Linked DNA regions of Homo sapiens: all the other regions are linked to region 4. The links are contacts of gene promoters, found by promoter capture Hi-C in blood cells and fetal thymus (Javierre and others, 2016). All regions are on one chromosome and are shown on one strand. Each heading gives the region's core, a stretch centred on a gene start or on the middle of the fragment in contact. The rest is flanking DNA. Distances are from core to core; before and after follow the strand shown.

Region 1 (2,876 bases), core at 313-2,812, 3.5 Mb before region 4:
TCTGATGAATACAAAATGATAATTGTCATAATTAGTGTGTTTTATTGCCATCATACATATATAGGAAAGTTGGCAGTGCTTTAATATATCTATTCCATCACTTCAAGTTTTTTTTTTTTTTTTTTTTGAGATGGAGTCTTGCTCTGTCGACCAGGCTGGAGTGCAGTGGCGTGGGGTTTCACCATGTTAGCCAGGATGGCTACCATCTCCTGACCTCGTGATCCGCCTGCCTGGGCCTCCCAAAGTGCTGGGATTACAGGCGTGAGCCACCACGCCGCGCGGCCCACATTTTTTTTTTTTTTTTTTTGAGACAGAGCCTTACTCTGTCGCCAGGCTGGAGTGCAGCGGCGGGATCTCGGCTCACTCCGCCTCCCAGCTTCAAGCGATTCTCCTGCCTCAGCTTCCTGAGTAGCTGGGACTGTAGGCACATGCCACCACACCCGGCTAATTTTTGTATTTTTAATGCAGACAGGCTTTCACCATGTTGGCCAGGATGGTCTCGATTCTTGACCTCACCATCACTTTCAAGTCCAGGCTTTCAAGTCCAGGCTTGCACTAAGCTAGGTTCCTCTGACCGTCGTCCTGCCAACTGACAGTTATCTGGTGAAGTCCCCAAGTGGGGGCTTTGCTGCATCAGAGCCCTGGTTCATTGTTTACGCCCAGCCCAACAGAGACAATCCCAGTTTACACTCTAAACTGGAACTTTGGTTTGCCTCCCTTAAGGAGAAATAGGCTCTGATTTTCCAAAGCAGATGTTCACCTTTAATCCAGGGGCAAATGCTGGATTAGGGAAGGTCAGGCAGTTTAGTCTTTCTGTGCTGAAAGACTGGACCCTCCCTAGTCCAGTCCGAAATTATTCATTAGTGAAACTTAACAAGCATAGATGTTTTGAGTGGAGAGATCTCACTGCTCAATACAGTGACTCCATCAGCATTAAATTAGATAGTCTTTGTAAGAGCACTATGATTATGTGCATCCATCACTGCGGACGATGACTCAGTGTGATGTTGATGCGATACTGTGGCAGCTTCCCTGGCACACAGAAGCCCTGCATTAGATTTCTGGTGTTGTAAGTTACCACGTAGAGGAGTACTTTTCAAGAAACCATATTGTCAAGCCCTATTCTTAGCTAGATTTATATTTCTGGGGCAAGGTTAGAACTGAATCAATTTCCAGAGATTGGAAGAATAATTTAAAAAAAAAATTTTTATTTTAGGTTTAGGGGTACATGTGTAGGTTTGTTGTATAGGTAAACTCATGTTACGAGGATTTGTTATGCAGATTATTTCATTACCCAGGTACTAAGGCTAGTACCCAACAGTTATATTTCCTGATCCTTTCCCTCTTCCCAGCTTCCATCCTCTACTCTCCAATAGGCCTCATTGTGTACTCTTCTCCTGTATACGTCCATGTGTTCTCATCATATAGCTTCTACTTTTAAGTGAGAACATGCAGTATTTGATTTTATGTTCCTACGTTAGTTTGCTAAGGTTAATGGCCTCCATCTCCAACTGTGTTCCTGCAAAGAACATGATCTCATTCTTTTTTAATGGCTGCATAGTATTCCATGGTGTGTATGTACCACATTTTCTTTATCCAACCTACCACAATGGGCATTTTTTAATATTGAGAAAACCTTGGGAAAATGTTCAACAACAAGTAAATTTCCTTTGGACATATTCAATGTTTAAGTAATATTTTTGCCATAAGAGTCTCATAAGGTTGTATAAAAGATTGTAAGAGACTTTGAAATTTAGCGGGTGTCTTGGTCTACTCTCCATCTGAGTTTCTCTGCTTGTATTTGCCTTTGGCTAAGTGTGTTAGTCTGCTCTCACACTGCTGTAAAGAACTGCCTGAGACTGAGTAATTTATAAAGGAAAGAGGTTTAATTGACTGACAGTTGTGCAGGGCGGGGGAGGCCTCAGGAAACTTACAGTCATGGCAGAAGAGGAAGCAAACACATCCTTCTTCACTTGGCAGGAAGGAAAAGAATGAAAGATGAATGAAGGGGGAAGTCCCTTATAAAGCCATCAAATCTTCTGAGAGCTTACTATCATGAGTATAGCATGAGGGAAACTGCCTCCATGATTCATTTATCTCCCACCAGTTGCCTCCTACCACATGTGGGGATTATGGGAACTATAATTCAAGATGAGATTTGAGTGGGCACACAGCCAAACCATATCATACCGTCCCTGGCCCCTCCCAAATCTCATGCCCTCACATTTCAAAACACAATCATGCCTTTCCAACGGTCCCCCAAAGTCTTAGCTTATTCTAGCATTAACCCAAAGTCCAAGTCCAAAATCTCAGCTGAGACAAGACAGGTCCCTTCTGCCTATGAGCCTGTAAAATCAAAAGGAAGTTAGTTACTTCCTAGATACAATGGTGGTACAGGCATTGGGTAAATACACCCTTTCCAGATGGGAGAAATTGGCCAAAACAAAGGGGCTACAGGTCTGATGCAAATCCAAAATCCAATAGGGCAGTCATTAAACCTTAAAGTTCCAAAATGATCTCCTTTGACTCCATGACTCACATCCAGGTCACGCTGATGCAAGAGGGGGGCTCCCGTGACCTTGGAAAGCTCTGCCCCTGTGGCTTTGCAGGGTACAGCCTCCCTCCTGGCTGCTTTCATTGGCTAGTGTTGAGTGTCTTTGGCTTTTCCAGGTGCATGGTGCAAGCTCTTGGAGGATCTTCCATACTGGAGTCTGGAGGACAGTGGCCCTCTTCTCACAACTCCTCTAGGCAGTGCCCCAGTGGGGACTCTGTTAGGGGACTCCAATCCTACATTTCTTTTCCCCACTGCCCTAGCAGAGGTTCTCTATGAGGGCTCTGCCCCTGCAGCAGACTTCTGCCTGGACATCCAGGCATTT
Region 2 (2,700 bases), core at 33-2,532, 3.6 Mb before region 4:
CCAGATGAAATCCGAAATCCTTAACGTGGCACACAAAGTCTTCTGTTATCTGGCCCTTGCCTTTGTATTCTCGATTCTCCTCTTATCACTCCCTTCCTTGAACCCTGGAACCCTCATTGGAACTGTGTACAGCTCCCTGTGTGTCCTGCTCATCTCAGTGAGGAGCTTTGCATGTGTTTAATTTCCTCCTGCAGCACTGGGCTTCCTGCAGGGTTCATTCCTCCTCCTCCTCAACATCCCAACTTGAGGTCACTGCCCTAGGAAATCTTTCTTCTCTGTCTCTGTTTCTACATCAGGTATCATTCCTGTGTGTTCCCATAGCATTTTGTGTCTATCGCACTTGTTTCTTGAATTGTTACTATTGTTGAAAAAATTTAAAAAATCTTAGTCTCCTTAAGCTTTAGTAAGTCTCAGAAATGTGAAACATGCTTAGTTAATGTTTGCTAAAAGAACTCAGACCTTCCATTACATATCCTTGTATATGACTATCAAACACGTCTCTGTTTTCAGGACTTTTTGTTTCTTTGTTTTTTTGAGACAGAGTCTTGCACTGTTGCCTGGGCTGGAGTCCAGTGGCGCGATCTCAGCTCACTGCAACCTCTGCCTCCTGGGTTCACGCGATTCTCCTGCCTCAGCCTCCTGAGTAGCTAGGATTACAAGTGCACACCACCACACCTGGCTAATTTTTTGTATTTTTAGTGGAGATGGGGTTTCACTATGTTGGCAAGACTGGTCTGGAACTCCTGACCTCGTTACCTGCCCACCTTGGCCTCCAGACTTTTGGTTGAGTGTGCTTGTAGAGATCTTATTTTTATGTGGTAGTATTTTAAATATGGGGTTGAAAGGACAAATGACCTCAGTACCTATGTTATCTTTTATTGCATTCCACTAACATTCCCATGTTTCTGTTTTTTGCCTTCTCTCATCTTCATTTAGCATGTCAATATTTTATAAAATAGATGATGATACAGAACTTTCAAATATATATCCCAGGAAATAAACAAGATGGAACCTGGAGTTGGTCATGAAGAATTCTTGAGAGCCAGTATTCTGAGTTTTTCTTCAGTGACCCAATGTTAATCACTTTGAAAGAAGAGAGGCAAAGAAGTCTGTTTTTCATTCCATCTCTTTGCCTGTGTAAATAATTACTATCAGTTTCTAGGCTTTAGGACCAGTGCCATAAAGACATTTTAAGGTTCAATTTCACAGACTCATTTCTGACTATCTCAGGACACCATGGGAATGATCTGTGTACTGTGTTGTTTTCTGGAGTGACTTGGCCATGCAGCCCTTTTGCTATGACACAGCAGCAGAAATCAGGCCTGTTTTATTTAGTGCCTCCTTTTTTCTTCCATTGTTCTCATGTGTTTCAGACCCTCACCACCTGGTGACCGGCTGTAACCCCCTCTCCAGCTTCCTTAGGGGGCAATATCCCTATGAGAATGTGAGTCAGAAACACAGTGGCCACTGGATACAGCACTGCTAGAGACAAGCGAAGATCAAGCAAGCTGAGGTCAGCACAGGTAGACAGGTTCAGCTGGAAAAAGGACTGGGTGAGCTGTGCTTGGAATGAGACTGGCAAGTCTGATCTGGTGCTAGGCGGAATTCTGAACTTAAAAGTTGACAACAGGTGGGAGAAAATTTCAATAGGGCTGGACATACTATGAAGAATACACAGAGAAATTACTGGCTTTGATAAGGATCTCTGCAGATGAGACATTTTATCTAGGGCAATTCAGATATATTAAATTGGCCCTACTCCAGGTAGAGACTTACTGGTCTTAAAGGGCTCTCATCAGTTAAGGAGAAACCACTTCCCTTAAAAGGAAAGGCGTTTCTTCATCTAGCTGTGCTTCTTCAGTAGGTGAACAAGAGGGGGAATGCAAGTGAAGGAGACGGGCACAAAGCCCGACCTCCTTGTGGACTTGGGCTTCTCCGGGGAATGCTTGTTCTCGGGGATGTGGTTGGATTAGCCCTGGGAGGTGGGGAGAGGAGGAGATCGGTGGAGGGCGGTTTTCTTCCTTTTCCCTTTGCTTGGATTTCCCCTTCTGAGACCAAGTCACCATATGGCACCAAAGGGAGAGGTTTGGCCCAGGAACATAGACTTCTCATTTTCCAGTTTGCACAGCTCATCCTGCCCATATAGATCTCTTCTTCACTTTCAAATAAAGCTTCCTGAAATGTAATTTTCATTGTATCAAAGGCCTTTAATGACTTCTTATTGTTAATAAATTGCAAACCCCTTAGGCTGACATTCAAGGATCTTGACTATCTGGCCCCAACCTACCTCATTCTTCCCAAAGCAAACCCTTGACTCTGAAGCAAGTGTACTGGCTGTTTCTTGAAGACACATGCAGTTCCTGTCTTCAGGATTTGTCCATACTACTATCATCCATCTAGAACACCTCTTCACTCTTCTCCATTGATGTGAATTTTTAAACACAACTGCTCAAATCCTACCTTTTCCACTCTTTTTTTTTTTTTATTTTGAGACGGAGTCTCGCTCCATTGCTCAGGCCGGAGTGCAGTGGCGCGATCTTGGCTCGCTGCAAGCTCCGCCTCCTGGGTTCATGCCATTCTCCTGCCTCAGCCTCCCGAGTAGCTGGGACTACAGGCCCCTGCCACCATGCCCGGCTAATATTTGTATTTTTGGTAGAGATGGGGTTTCACCGTGTTAGCTAGGATGGTCTCAATCTCCTG
Region 3 (2,728 bases), core at 29-2,528, 3.6 Mb before region 4:
CCCAGCAATCTAGGAGGACAACATGGGAGGATCACCTGAGCCGAGGAGCTTCAGGACCAGCCTGGGCAACACAGGGAGACCCTGTCTTCACAAAAAATTTTAAAATATTAGCTGCATGTGGTGGTGCATGCCTGTAGTCCCAACTATTGGGAGGCTGAGGCGGGAGGATGGCTTGAGCCCAGGAGGTCGAGGCAACAGTGAGCTATGATCATGCCACTGCATAGCAGCCTGGGTGACAGAATAGGACCCTGTCTCAAAAAAAAAAAAAAAAGAAAAAAACCAGGAATGTTTAAAAGGCTTCTTGACTTTCCTGTGTTTACATTTGTAACATAAACATTGTTAATACTCATTTTATCCTTAATTTCCTGAGATTTCTGAGAGAAAATACAAAGTAAGGACATAGAATAAAACCTTTGCCAGATCTAGTTAGGAAGCAGTAAACATTTTACTGTCTAGTTTTGATACAGATAAAAAGCCAAATGAAACAGCTTATTGTGCAAAACCGTATTTAAGCTGCTTATAACTTTTAAAAAATACTTTCTCCTTTTGGAGTTGAGTAAAACTCCTGCACAGTAGGGTACTTGTTCACTTTGGTGTAAAATTGAAAAATTTACCAGGTTTTGAGTATTTAAAATGCCTGAGGGAAAGCTTGGGAAGATGTGGTTTTCAGGTGCATTTTGCAGTGGGGAAGTGACTACTAGCATAGCTATGTCCATCCATCTGTCCATGCGGTTGAAAGGTGTGCTCCAGGTGCCAAAGGCAAAATGAATAATGTACAGGCCTGGATCCCCGAGGCCTGCGGCAGAGGAGGCAAATATCTGCAAGGCCGAGGCGGAGGGAGGGGCCGCTGCTAGCTCAGACCTGCCATCTCACATTCCTGTGAAATGTGCTTCACCTTTCCATCATTGTTCTTTGTCTCTGGACCTTGAGTAGTTGCACAGCTTTTTGAGTCAAACTTTAATAAGAAAACCAAATGCACACTCTTGTTCTTAGGTGAGATAAAATCAAGATTGCATTTAAAACCTGGAAGTTAGGAGTGAATGAATGTGGAGCTTTATCACTGAAATGATTTTTCATCCTTAATTCCAAGGTAGCCTTTGCTTTCTCGTTCACCAAAGGCACCGAAAACACAAACTAGACCTTTGAGAAATGATAATATTTTAAGGTCATAGTTTCCTTGATCTCTGTGAGGCTCCTCTGTATTAAAGTATTTTTTGCTATTTTCTGACACAGATCGGAAACATGCCATTTGTTCCTGCCTTTAAGATACAATAGTTCAACATAGTGATGACAATTTTGAGACTATTTTGATGGCCAAGTGTCTCTTTTCTGGAGTTAAAAGTAGAGGTTCTAGTCTTTCAAGAAGCATTTCAACCACTCAGATGTCCTGGCTGGAAACACCTCCATTATTATCAAGTCCATGTTTCCTTTTAGCTTTTGAATTATTTCATCATCAAGGGTTATCAATTTTACCTCCTAAACTTTGCCCTTACAATAGCTATCAAACAGTCTCCTGACTTTATTTTTCTTCTGCTCCAACCCATTTCTCACAGTGTTATTAAAAAAATTATATATATACATATATTTAATTGACAAAGTATATGTTTATCATGTATAGCATGTTTTGAAATATGTATACTTGTGGAACAGCTAAATCAAGATAATTAACATATGCATTCCCGCACATACTTATCAAATTATTGTGATGAGAACACTTAAAATCTACTCTCTCAGCAATTTTCAAGGATACAATACACTATTAGCTACAGTCACCATGTTGTACAATAGATCTCTTGAACTTATTCCTCCTAACTGAAATTTTTCATCCCTTGACCAACAACTTCCATACACTGTCTTTTTAACTTTTTTTAAAGTCTTTTAGTATCATTTGGAAACATTCATTTAGGCAAAGCTTCCAGAAGCACACTCAAGGAATGAATGGGGAACGAAAGGGACACTGCTTTGTGGACCAGGTTAATTACATTGTCTTCCTAGACAATCTGAGCTTGCCACTGTCCTGGTTAAAACTTGTTTGTGGTGCCCTGTTGCCTTAGGTTAGAGTCCAAACCTGTATTCCAGGTAGAACGCAGGCCCTTGGCCAAACGATCACAGGCCAAGCTCTCTTAGTCTCCATCCTTTTTCTTTCCTTCTCCTTCCACCCTCTCTACCTCCTTTCTTCTCCACCCCATCCCATTTCCCTATCAACATGATGCTTAGTGACTTCCTCTCCCTCAAGCCCATTCTTCATCAGAGCCATTCTCTGCTTTGCCATCACTCTCTGAGCCTGGAATACCCATCTCTTTCCCATTTCGGTTCCCTGCTTATCTACAAAGACCCAGCTCAAATGTTCCTCCTCTATAAATTCCCAGAGCAGGCAGCCTCCTGCTCTGTACTCTCCATGATGTAGTCTAGGATGGCTATTTCACATCTCTTTGTCTTTCTTTATGTGTTCTGATCTCTGCCTTTTCAACTAAACTAAACTTTATGAGGCAGAGTCTATGTTTTTCATTTTGTGTACAATTGCCTTGCATTGGGCCTGGCATGTCACAGGTGTCAATAAATGTTTGTCAATTGAATAAATGAAAGTGTGTCACTTTTCTGGCTAATGTCATATATTTTTCATTTTGCTCTAGGTCTCCAGAAAAGAGCATCCATTGAGCTGAGTGGAATGAACTCAGTTAGTTGCTATAAAGTCTATACCTCGTCTAGCCTTTCAGTGATGATTCAT
Region 4 (2,801 bases), core at 96-2,595:
GGCTCCAGGGCTCTGCGGGCAGCGTAGCGACTCCAGGCTCCCCTCTCCAGAACGCGCTTCGCTGCCAGCGTCCTGCCACCCCGGTCGCCCGCCCGCGGGCCCCGGACCACGCCGCCCGCGCTCCCCGCGAATGCAGCATCTCCGCCTCTCTCCAGAGCCCACCAGTCCCCGCGTGCCGGCCAGCCTAGATTGTGGCCATGTCCTTCGTCCTCGAAAACAGGAGAGGGTCAGGTATCGCCATCGGACACCTTCCCGGACTTGACACCCGAGCCGATAGTAGCTTTTAGCGCCTGGGAGCGTTCGGGGGAGGAAAGGCGGAGAGACCGTCCGTTCCAGCGGGGCTCGGGTTGGAAAGCCGAGCGAGGAGTCTCCACCTAGTGAAATGGGGCGGGGGTTGGGGGTGGGGGACGGGGAACCGAGGTTCCAGAAACAGGCTCCGAGGCCCCGCGGACTGACCCCTCCTCCCGCCCGGACGGCGCGGCGGACCCCGGGGCGGGGACATAGGGGGATCGCGGACGCCACTTACTTGGAGTTCGAGGAATTCCAATAGATAGGCTCTAAAACTATCGATTTGGAAATCGCAGTTCTGCATAAAACCATCAAAACACCCCAGCAGTACTTCCACACGGAGTCCCTTCTCACAGCCATGGCGAAGCCACTCCCAGCTCCGCGCACTCCGGGCCAAGAAGGGACTGACGGGACGCAGGCTGGGACCCCCAATCCTCCGGGGCAGACTGGCGGGGAAGACGGCGTGCGCCCGCAGGCAGCTCCGAGGCGCGCTGCGCAGCTCCAGCGGTCGCCGGGCCAGGTGCGCTCGCTCTCCGGGGCCCTCAGGGCGCGGGGCGGGAGCGCACGCGCGGGGCGCGGCGGCGCGGCGGACTCGGGGTTCCGGGGCGCCGCGCCGGACGCAGCTCGGACGGCCGACTCCCGTGCGGCTCCAGGGTGCCGGGCCGGCCGCGGCTGGCGGGTGGGCGCGGGGCGGGTGCGGGCTGGGACACAAAGACCCGGAGCGGAGACGACCGGCGCGGGCGGCGGGCGCTGCGCCCCGAGCGGGGCCGCCTGTGACTATAGATCCAGTGCAGCGGGCAGCGGCCCGAGCGCGCGGGCGCCGCGTCGGCGCGGTTCCATGTCCCGGAGCACGGAGCGGAGTAGGGCGCCTCCGGGCGCGCAGGAGCCTTCTCAGTCCGCGCGGCTCCCGGCCCCCAGGGCAGGAAAGAGGGAGCTCGGTCCCCGCCGCGGGCTCCGGACGCGCGCGGGCCTTTGTGTGCGGGGAGGGCGCCGGGACCCGCTGCGTGCGCAGCTCCTCGCTCCGGCCGGCGCCGCGGTCCCCGCCGAGGAGAGTCAGCGCGGCCGCCGCGCTGTCAGAGCGCTATAAACGCGGGGCCCCGCCCCGCCGCGCGAAGCCCATTGGCCCGCGGCTCCGCGGCCGCGCGCTGGTTGGACGGCCGGTCCGTCCGTCCGCCATCCCCTCCCGACATTGGGTGCCGCGAGGCGGGGCTCGGGCTGACAGGTGAGCCCCGCCCCTGGCTCCCGCGGGCGGCGGGAGCGGAGCAGAAGCCGGGCAGGAGAAGCGCTCAGCGCGTGCACAGGGCGCCCCCGGGGCGGCGAGAGGCCTTCTGGGCGCGGTGCAGACGTGGAAACAGCGACGGCCGAGTAGCGGGCCACCTGTCTCCGCGCCCGGGGGCGCCTTCCCCCTCGGCGGAATCAGAGGGCGCGGCTTTCCCTCGAGCAGTGCGGAAGGCAGCAGGCTCCGCTCGGCGTCCCTTCTCCGCAGATGCGGCGCTGCCCCGCGTGCAAGACTTGCACTCCGCGCGCACCCTTAGAGCTCCCGGCTTCTGCGCGCTTCTCCCGACGCCTCTCGGCGAGGGCTTCTCACTTGATTTTGGTACCAATCGCCTACGGCTCAGTTTCAGTCAGTGGGGCCGGGAATTGCAAGACGATTCCTGCGACGCGGCGCCGGAATTTGCAGCTCTAATCAGGGCCTGAGCATCGTCGCCTCCCGCCTTCTCTGCGGGCGTCTCCCTTCCCTCCTGGCCCCCCGGGAAGGTGGCGCCCCTGGAGCTTTCCCCGCGTGTCGCCGGCACAGGCACGACGCGGGGACCGTCTCACTAGCCTCTAGGAGACACGCGCGCTTCCCAAAGTGACCAGAGATTTAGAGGGTGTGAGATGGAAAAGTCAAGGCATGTGCTTCTCACTCGGCGTCTGCAAGACCCCAGAGCAGAGCTGGCAGGAACTCCTCGCTACTTTCCCGGTCGAGCGCCGGTGCTGACGCTCGTCCGTGACTTCCACGGAGCCACAGCGCCCACTAGCGGCCAGCTTTGCTTCTCCGCATCTCGAGCGCTCTGCGGTCCACCGACCCGGATCCAGCATACTGCAGCATCTAATCAAGTCACAGTTCCAAGGAAAATCTTTTTATATGTCCAACAGTAGGAAGAACACGGTAGAAATAAGGCACAGTGCAAATGTACGATTCAGTATGAAAAATTAAAATATACTGTATGCCCACGTTTTTTTTCAATTTAATGCCGTCCACCCCAGGATTTATGTTTCAAACACAAACTGGGCAGTAATTCTACAAATTATGTATTTTTAAAACAAAGTATCCACTACGCTAAATTTAAAAATGCATATGGTAAAACACCTTGTTTTCTTTCACTCTTCTTTGTAACAATTTCTGAAGATTTTTATGGTACGTTGCTTTTAAGTATCCGTTTTTGAAACATTAGTCTAACTTAACGTATACATCTCAGTTGGAGTGGTAAAAGCTTGTGAAGACTAGTTTAAGATAGAAAACACATTAA
Region 5 (2,700 bases), core at 45-2,544, 3.4 Mb before region 4:
GCTGAACAGCAACGATGGGGGTAGAAGAACTCTAGAAAGCAGACACACAAGCTACAATTTAATCTCTTTTGTTAATAACAGCTGTCTTCTATTACTTTTTTACAATGGGATTATTAATATTAATTTTTCCAGCAACCCTAAGAGAAAATAGTGACCACAGGTGTGCACGTGTATTTACAGAGGAGAAAGCTGAGCGGTGAAAGGTCACACAACTCCCTGAAATCTGCAGCCATGAGGGAGGGGCAGCAGCGTGGAGCCCTAAAGCCATCTGTCCAGGCACTGAGCGCTTAGCCGCCCACACTCCTAACTGTGCTTCTGTGCTCCTGCTCAACACAGCCTTGACCCTGGTGCAGCAGCGTGGACAAACCACACACTCCTTTTTACGGCAAATGGAGTTTATACTGCTTGTTAGCCCCAGATTGGCTCCCCACGCTCCCCTTTCTTTCTTGCTGGAGGCCTGAGTGATGGCCGCCAGTCTCTTTCCTCTGTAAAGCTCATAGCATCCCCGCAAGCCTTGTCACCACCCCACCTGGTATCTGCAACTTGTTCCCCTGGGGCAAGTGCTCAGTCCCTCTTATTCTAACCTAAGAGCCCTAATCTCCATGGAAACATAGGCAGGGAGGGTCTTGCAAACCAACCCGGGGATCTCCGGAATTTAGGAAGCCTTGGTGTGGTCAGGATACTGGTCTAATGACCATGACCACCTTGCTAAGACTAAGAACTGTTCTCACCTCTTCTGATCGAGGCCACATCTCCGGAATGCCTTTTGTTTCTCAGTGTGTGGGCCTGGAAACTTACTGAGGTTGTGATACCAGGTGGCAGCTAATAGCCTCTTAGGTGCTTACTTGTGGGCAATTGCAAGTTTTAAAACTTTCCTGTGTTCTTGTCTCCCGCTGAAGTATTATATTTGGGTGATTTCCACAAATTTGTTTTTTCTAGTTTAAAAGAGAAATTAGACTCTATTTTTAATGTTCTTTATGAACCCCCTCCATGACAAAACAATAGCCAATAGTGCTTAAAATTTGTAAGAATGATTTAACGTCACTGGGAGAGATCATATGTAAATGTGTTTACACACCCTTGTATAGATTTCATGTCAAACCAAATTCTTCAGCCTGCAAGTTCAACTACAATTTTATTTATTTTTTTTTATTGGGATATTTTTCTTTTTTTTTCTTTTATTATTATTATACTTTAAGTTTTAGGGTACATGTGCACAATGTGCAGGTTAGTTACATGTGTATACATGTGCCATGCTGGTGTGCTGCACCCATTAACTCGTCATTTAGCATTAGGTATATCTCCTGAAGCTATCCCTCCCCCGTCCCCCCACCCCACAACAGTCCCCAGAGTGTGATGTTCCCCTTCCTGTGTCCATGTGTTCTCATTGTTCAATACCCACCTGTGAGTGAGAATATGCGGTGTTTGGTTTTTTGTTCTTGCGATAGTTTACTGAGAATGATGATTTCCAATTTCATCCATGTCCCTACAAAGGACATGAACTCATCATTTTTTATGGCTGCATAGTATTCCATGGTGTATATGTGCCACATTTGCTTAATCCAAATGTCCAACAATGATAGACTGGATCAACTAAAATTTTAAATCAGAGGTCTTTATATGCCTTAGCCAGGTTACGAGGGTTTCAGAATTTAAGGGCAAAATCTCTTACCTCTATAAATGTTGTTTCAATGTATCAAGAATCCCCAAATCATAGTCAGACAGCATTTATCCCTGGTTTATCATTGATTTATTATTTATTAAACACTTCATTATACCAGGCACTGGGGGGCACCCAGAAGTGACTAAAAGAGACCAGGTACCTGGTTTCATTGAGTTTATATTTTAGTTTAGGAAAACACACAACAATATAAAACATAAATTTTAAAAAGGTTAATTTCAGATAGCAAAAAGGGATACGAAGAAAATGGGATGGTGTGATAGAGACCCAACTTACAGCTGAGGGCGACCGGTTCTACCTGAGGCAAAGTGGTTAGGAAAGCTGTTAATTAATGGTGACCTTTAAGTAGAGACCTGAATGGAAAGAGAAGCCAAGCCTGTGAAGACTGGTGTTCCAGCAAGAGGGGTTGCATGTGCAAGGGTCCTGAGGCTGGAATGTGCCTTGTGACTTCAAGAACAGAAGGGCTTATGTGAAAAGTGAAGCATGGTGAGTCCAGGGAATTCTGGAAAACCTGGAGGAGGAGAGGAGGCTGGGTATGGGACCCTGACGTGGAGCTGGATTTTATTCTGTGTGAGGTGGGAAGCCATTGGAGAGTTTTATTCAGGGTACTGACATCACTTGGAAAAGAGTAAAAGATTACTCTGGATCACAGGATGTAAAAGCAGTGGCAGAGAGGCTTGGCAGGTGGCTGGGGATGTCCAGACTACTAGGATGGCCCTTAGACCAGACAGGAAACAGTGGAAATGGGAGAAGTGGGTGAGGTCCGTGTATATTTCAGAAGTAGCACTGATGGGATTTGCTGATGGATTGCAGGCAGGGAGTGAAGAAAACGGAGGGGGTGGTAAGGAAGATTCCCAGGCTTTTGACTTTAACTGTGTGAACGGATGGTGGTGCCATTTACTGAAATGGGGAAGACCCAGTGAGGATTTGAGGTGAAATGACAAACTCTGATTTGCGATTTGAGTGTGAAATTCATATTAAATATCAATGTGAGATCAGAGGAAGAGGGAAGGAGAAAT
Region 6 (2,985 bases), core at 285-2,784, 3.3 Mb before region 4:
CACTTTCTTCATAAATAATATATTTAATGTGTTCATTTTTATATCTGACAGTCATAATTTTACTCTTATAATGAAAATTACTTTTATTCTATAGTGTTGGTTCACAGTTTGGTGTAAATAACTTGTTCTTTTTCATTTCTACAAATGTAGAAAGGTTGCACTGATGCATCAAGGTTTTCTTGTTGGAAGTCTGAGGACTTTTTCTGCCAAATTTCCTGCATAGGCAGTCTGGCAAACCCTGCATCGTCATGTGCAATGCCCTGGTCCTATCTCTTCCTGCTCCCATTCTTCTGGGCACTTGGACATGCATAGCTTCTATTGCCTCTCCTGGATCCTTCATCCATCACAATCATTTTCCCACTAGGTCTTAGGTTACTGTGTGTGAAGAGAGGCCCAGTGAGACAGAGCCTTCACTCTTCCACATTGGCTCAGAATAAGGCAGGGTTTTGAGGTATTTGTGGGTTTGAGTGAGTGATATTTCCTAAGATGGCTCTGTCTCCTATGAGGCCAAAATTTCTCCAGGAATGTTTTTGTGATCAATCACATCCTGCATCTAATCATCTGATTAGCAACCGTAATTCAATCTGTAGTCCTAATTCCTTATTCATGTAATCTAACACATTCACAGGTTCCAGGGATTAGATGATGAGCATCTTGCAGGGGATAGGAGCATCATTCTACCTACCACATACACATACAGCATTAATAGGCTTTGCCTCTCCAAGCCTTGGCTTAAGTTGAATGATATTACAAAGATGACAGAGACTGGAGTAAGCTGATGACCTAGATGAGCCTTATGGAAGAACAGGTAACCTTGTTGAGACCCAGTAGTTGTCTACTTTCCATTAGAATTCTCCTGGGAGAACTCAGTAATGTAAGACTTAGAGTTTACAATTAACCAGGATGGTCTCATCTTTTGTCGGGTCTGAGATCTTGCCCTGTACCACACCGTGCCCTTCATCCTGCCCTGCTCCCTTGCCTGTAAATGGTAGATAGACTCTTCTTGTCTCTCTACACTTGTTATTCTGTGCAGCTGCACAATGATTTTTTGAGATAAAACACATGTAGGTGGATTTGCTTTTATGTGCTCATCTCATTTTATTCTTTCATATTCATTCCTGTTTCTTATATGCTTGATGACAAAAGTAATAATAGTAAGTAGTTTGTTTGCATTGTAACAACAGTTTCCCAATTGGTTTCTATTGCCTTTACATCCTTCTAGGTTTTCAAATTTGTTTTTTAACCTGTGGCTAGAATGCTCTTTCTAGAATACAAATATGATCAGTATCTGTTCTTCACTTAAAACTTTGCAATAAACCCACATGGCTATAATAATAAAAGACACTTCATGTTTTGGTCTTTGCTTTCTTCATAAATGCACCTGTTTTATTGTTATTTTCAATTCCCTTGAGTGCCAAGCTACCATGCTCTTCATCATATTGCTTTCTCTATCTAAAATGCACTTCCACTATTGTGGCAGCTTTTTCACTCTGTAGATGGGCAAGCGGGAGGGAGTGGCACCCAGTGGCTGCTTCTCTCATTGTTCAGTGAGCAGGAGGGAGTGTTACAGCTCTTTTATTCCCTCCACCTGCAGCTTCGTGAGCAGGAGTACTATAGCTGTTTCATTTCATAGTTCAGCTAGTTCCAGGTTCTTGTGCTGTGACCAAGAGGAATAAGGTATGTGGACACCAGAGAGTGAGTAAGTCAGAGGAGAATTTTATTAAGCAACAGAAAGAAAGTTCTCAGTGTTGAGAGGGGACCCAAAAGCTGGTAGCAATCTGTGAGGCTGAGTCTGGGGTTTTTATGGGCTTAGAATGGAGGAGTGTGTGCTGATTGGTCCATGGGTGGCCTTGGAAAAGGCACCATTAGATTAGTTAAAAGGTATCATTACAGGGAACCAATCAAGAGAGAGTGGGCAAGAAGGGATGGAAGTTCTCACTCCAGTTTTGGACTGTATGGAGAACTGGCAGCTCAGTTTTCAGGCTTTAAACTGTCCTTGGCTTGAAGGTCGGGTTTGACCAGAGACCTGTCCCTGTCTGCCTAGGCATTTGTCTGTCTCCTGTTGCTATCACTATTCCTCCACCCATTTTTGTCTACTTTCTCTTTATTGTTTAGGCCTCCATTTAGAATTTACTTCCACTAAGAAGGGTTATCTGACCCCTAAATCCAGCCAAAGTCCCCTCTATGTGGTAACAGAGCTTTGTGTACTCTCATCAAGGGCTTATCATAGGATATTACTGCCAGATGGTTATTTTTAGGTGTCTGCCTTGTTCATTGTTATAGCTCCAACATGTAATAGAAGCTCTAACTAGTATTTTAAATTGTTGCGTAACTTCCCGTTATCAAATATTTTGGCATGTATGAGTGTGAAACACATTTTTACTGGACTGGAAAACTTAATTTTTTAAATCCTCACAACAATCTATGAGGTAGATTCTCACTTTATTTAATGGATGATGAAGTTGAGGGTTGGAGAGTAAATAATTTACTCTTCACACCATTAAATGGCCCACATTAGGATATGAATTAGTGTTTGTCTACTTTGAATGCTTATGGTTTTAATCACCAACAGTAGCTAGAGCAATCTCTTCAGATCTCATATTAAGTGGAATCATAATGCAGTTTTACTTGGATACAGGGTGTATTAGTTTTATATTGCTGCAGTAACAAGTTACTACAAACACAGTAGGGTAGCTCAAGAGAGTACAACTTTATTATCTTCCAGCAGGCTAGAAGGCCAGTAGGAATCTTACTGAGCTAAAACTAATGTGTGGGCAGGGCTGCATTCCCTCTGGGGAGTTGGGGAGAATTTGTTTCTTTGCTTTTTTCAGCTTTTGGAGGTCACCCACATTTCTTGGTTCATGGCTTTTTGCTCCATCTTCAAAGTTAGCAAGATAACATTTCTGTTTCCCTTGCCACATCTTCAGACTCTCTTTATCTGCCTTTCTATTCCACTTTTAAGGATCCTTGGGATTACCTTGGGCC
Region 7 (2,700 bases), core at 109-2,608, 3.6 Mb before region 4:
CAGAGCAAAGTAGTTATCTACAAAGTGTGTCTTTGCCACTTTTTTCCTTCTGATCATTCACTGGTCCATCCGTCTGTGTACCCCACACCTACTGCCATTTAGATATAAATATAGTGCATAAATCTATCTATCTATCTGTCTGTCTATCTATCTATCCGTTCTCACACTGCTGTGAAGAAATACCTGAGATTGGGTAATTTATAAGGAAAAGAAATTTAATTGGCTCACGGTTCTGCAGGTTGTGCAGGAAGCATGGCAGCATCTACTTCTAGGGAGGCCTCAGGAAACTTACACTCATGGTAGAAGGGAAAGGGGAAGCAGGCAGTTCTTACATGGCAGGGGCAGGAGGAAGTGGGGCAGGGAGATTCCACACACTTTTAAACAACTAGATCTCATGATAACTCACTATCACAAGAACAGCACTCAGGGGAAATCCACCCCCATGATCCAATCACCTCCCACCAGGCCCCACCTCCAAAGCTGGGGATTACAATTCGACATGAGATTTGGGCGGGGACACAGAGCCAAATCATATCAGTCAGTCAATCCATCCATCTACCTACCTACCTACCCACCTACCTACCTACCTACCTTCCTACCTACCTACCTAGTGCATTTATCTTTCTTTCTACCTTGTTTTTCTGTCTTTTGATATCAGTAATGATTTTCTGTCTTCCCATCAAGTATGCCACTACCAGTATCTCCACTCACTCCCCTTTCCACCTACTTAGGTGAAGACATTGAGGGACGTCAAAGAACTTGGGAAGAAGTGTTCCAAACAGCTGAGCTTGCAAGGTATTGAATGCTCTCGGGTTAATATCACGTGTACATTATGTCCAGCTTCATGAGCTTCTATCCTTTTCCACCTAAAAGATGACTGGCACTTCCCAGGACCAATCTGATTTCTTCCAACATGTTCTTATGACACCGATTTGGATCAGATGAGGCCATGCACATTTCTCTCCAGTCGGCTTCCTGGTCCCTGCATACGTTTGTTACAGGGTTGGATACTCCCACAAATCCTGGTGAGGAGGGCGAGACACAGTTAGGTTTTGTTGGAATTTAAGCTTTGAATACAACCCTGATAATGCTGGACTCTCAGTTCTCCCCTCTCTATTGGGATGTGTGGGGAGGGATGAGGAGGGCATGTACCTTGTGCTTATGTTTTCACAGGGATGGCTCTTGAGCCCAAGTGTTTTCAGGTAATTGGTATCAAGGATCCTGACATTGAGAGAATGAAATTTTGATACTGAAACTGATCCTTCAATATGAACTGGAATTATTCCCCGCTGAGCCAAACTGCTCATTTATCTCGTACGTGACAAAAAATCTGCTGTAGCATATGGTTTCACCTTTTATTGAAAAAAAAAAAGAGTCATTTTAATTGCTAGTTAAGACTGCTGGGTTACTTAAATTTGCAGGCTTTTTATTAATGGTGATCTATTTCATTTAAAGCAGCAATAAATGAGATTTGGTGTTAGCCTCCCAATTATTAAATTTCATGGGCACTGTTAGAAGACTCGAGGTCACCCTTTTGAGAGTCTGAGCCATTTACATTTAAGGATTTAGTATACTTGAAGTGAGGGCAGAGTTCTGACACATAGCAGGTTCTTAATACATGTTTGAAAAGTTGAAAAGGTAGATGTGCACAAGCTTGTCTCCATTTCCCTTTGATACTCTTGTTCCCACCGTCTAAGGGTGGGATATACTTTCCCTCCATTGTATCTCTCAAATGGAAACATATGTGGCAACAGTTGCTTAAAATATCTGCTGCAGGTATTGAAAGCTGTACATTTGCTTATTGAGGGTTAATCTGACTAATTTCTTTACTTTTACTTGATGAAGGCAGGCAGGAGGAGGAGCTATTCCAAATATTAATAGCATGGCTATTATGAACAGAGACTGAATGACAGTTTTTAGTTTGTGGAATGGAAGTCTCATTCAACTATCTTAGAAGAGGGACAACATGCTTTGATGGAAAGAATTCTTGAAAACGGTATTTTTTTTTTTGAAATTTAGAAGTAGAACTTTTTGTTTTAAATCAGCTTTTTATTTTAAAATAGCTTTGGACATACAGAAAAGTTGTAACAATGGTATGGAGAATTCCCTTATATCTCTCATCCAATGTCCCCCATTGTAATCATCCTATATCACCATGATACATTTGTCACAAGTAAGAAACAAGCATAGGTACATTATTCTTAATGAAGCTCAATACTATATTCTGATTCCATCAGTTTCTCCCAAATGTCCTTTCTCCATTCCTGGACCCCATCCAGAACACCACTTACATTTAGTTATCATGACTCCTTAGCCTTCTGCGATCTCTGACGGCTTCTTAGACTTTCCTTGTCCTTGATTACCTTGATGGTTTTGAGGAGTGCTGGTCAGAAACCTGTATTCTTGTCTCGATTCTACTCATCATTGAATTGTGACCTTGAGTAAATCACTTATCTCTCTAGATCTCAATGAGTTTACCTGCAAAACGCGAGGCTGGAGATGAAAATATTGTTTAGGTTCCATCGAGTTTTCAAACTCTCATTCCTTTTAATATTACAGGCAGATATCAGAACCTGAAGTGTCATGTTTTTAAAAAAATATTTTTATTAAGATGGGGTGTCACGACATTGCCCAGGCTAGCCTCTACCTCCTGGGCTCAAGCAATCCTCCCACCTCAGCCTCCTGAGTAGCTGGGATTAC

The links. Contacts are between HindIII fragments. The CHiCAGO score rates a contact against its expected background, and 5 or more counts as called.
Region 1: a fragment that was not itself captured here is called in contact with the fragment with the promoter of EFNB2 in region 4 in 1 of 17 cell types (naive B cells); the score reaches 7.0 in naive B cells.
Region 2: a fragment that was not itself captured here is called in contact with the fragment with the promoter of EFNB2 in region 4 in 10 of 17 cell types (naive B cells, total B cells, naive CD4 T cells and 7 more); the score reaches 20.7 in naive B cells.
Region 3: a contact is called between a fragment that was not itself captured here and the fragment with the promoter of EFNB2 in region 4, in 15 of 17 cell types (total B cells, M2 macrophages, M0 macrophages and 12 more). The highest score is 34.6, in total B cells.
Region 5: a fragment that was not itself captured here is called in contact with the fragment with the promoter of EFNB2 in region 4 in 2 of 17 cell types (total B cells and naive B cells); the score reaches 7.2 in total B cells.
Region 6: a fragment that was not itself captured here is called in contact with the fragment with the promoter of EFNB2 in region 4 in 1 of 17 cell types (naive B cells); the score reaches 6.8 in naive B cells.
Region 7: a fragment that was not itself captured here is called in contact with the fragment with the promoter of EFNB2 in region 4 in 1 of 17 cell types (total B cells); the score reaches 7.3 in total B cells.

The regions. Positions count from the first base shown.
Region 1 is chr13:102,984,981-102,987,856 of GRCh38, forward strand. No RefSeq gene overlaps it. Among named protein-coding and RNA genes, the nearest start is that of SLC10A2, 80 kb to the right of the region's middle. The HindIII fragment of the contact is 4,155 bases long and covers 1-2,876 here.
Region 2 is chr13:102,927,669-102,930,368 of GRCh38, forward strand. No RefSeq gene overlaps it. Among named protein-coding and RNA genes, the nearest start is that of ERCC5, 83 kb to the left of the region's middle. The HindIII fragment of the contact is 1,773 bases long and covers 397-2,169 here.
Region 3 is chr13:102,910,752-102,913,479 of GRCh38, forward strand. No RefSeq gene overlaps it. Among named protein-coding and RNA genes, the nearest start is that of ERCC5, 66 kb to the left of the region's middle. The HindIII fragment of the contact is 1,264 bases long and covers 647-1,910 here.
Region 4 is chr13:106,534,317-106,537,117 of GRCh38, forward strand. It overlaps EFNB2 (ephrin B2), which reads right to left and starts at 1,346. Exons shown (of 5, transcript NM_004093.4): 1 at 527-1,346. The coding sequence starts at 648. RefSeq lists a silencer at 1,134-1,793 and an enhancer at 2,374-2,443. The HindIII fragment of the contact is 2,990 bases long and covers 1-2,763 here.
Region 5 is chr13:103,136,222-103,138,921 of GRCh38, forward strand. No RefSeq gene overlaps it. Among named protein-coding and RNA genes, the nearest start is that of SLC10A2, 71 kb to the left of the region's middle. The HindIII fragment of the contact is 6,015 bases long and covers 1-2,700 here.
Region 6 is chr13:103,197,609-103,200,593 of GRCh38, forward strand. No RefSeq gene overlaps it. Among named protein-coding and RNA genes, the nearest start is that of SLC10A2, 130 kb to the left of the region's middle. The HindIII fragment of the contact is 3,739 bases long and covers 1-2,985 here.
Region 7 is chr13:102,960,823-102,963,522 of GRCh38, forward strand. No RefSeq gene overlaps it. Among named protein-coding and RNA genes, the nearest start is that of SLC10A2, 100 kb to the right of the region's middle. The HindIII fragment of the contact is 586 bases long and covers 1,066-1,651 here.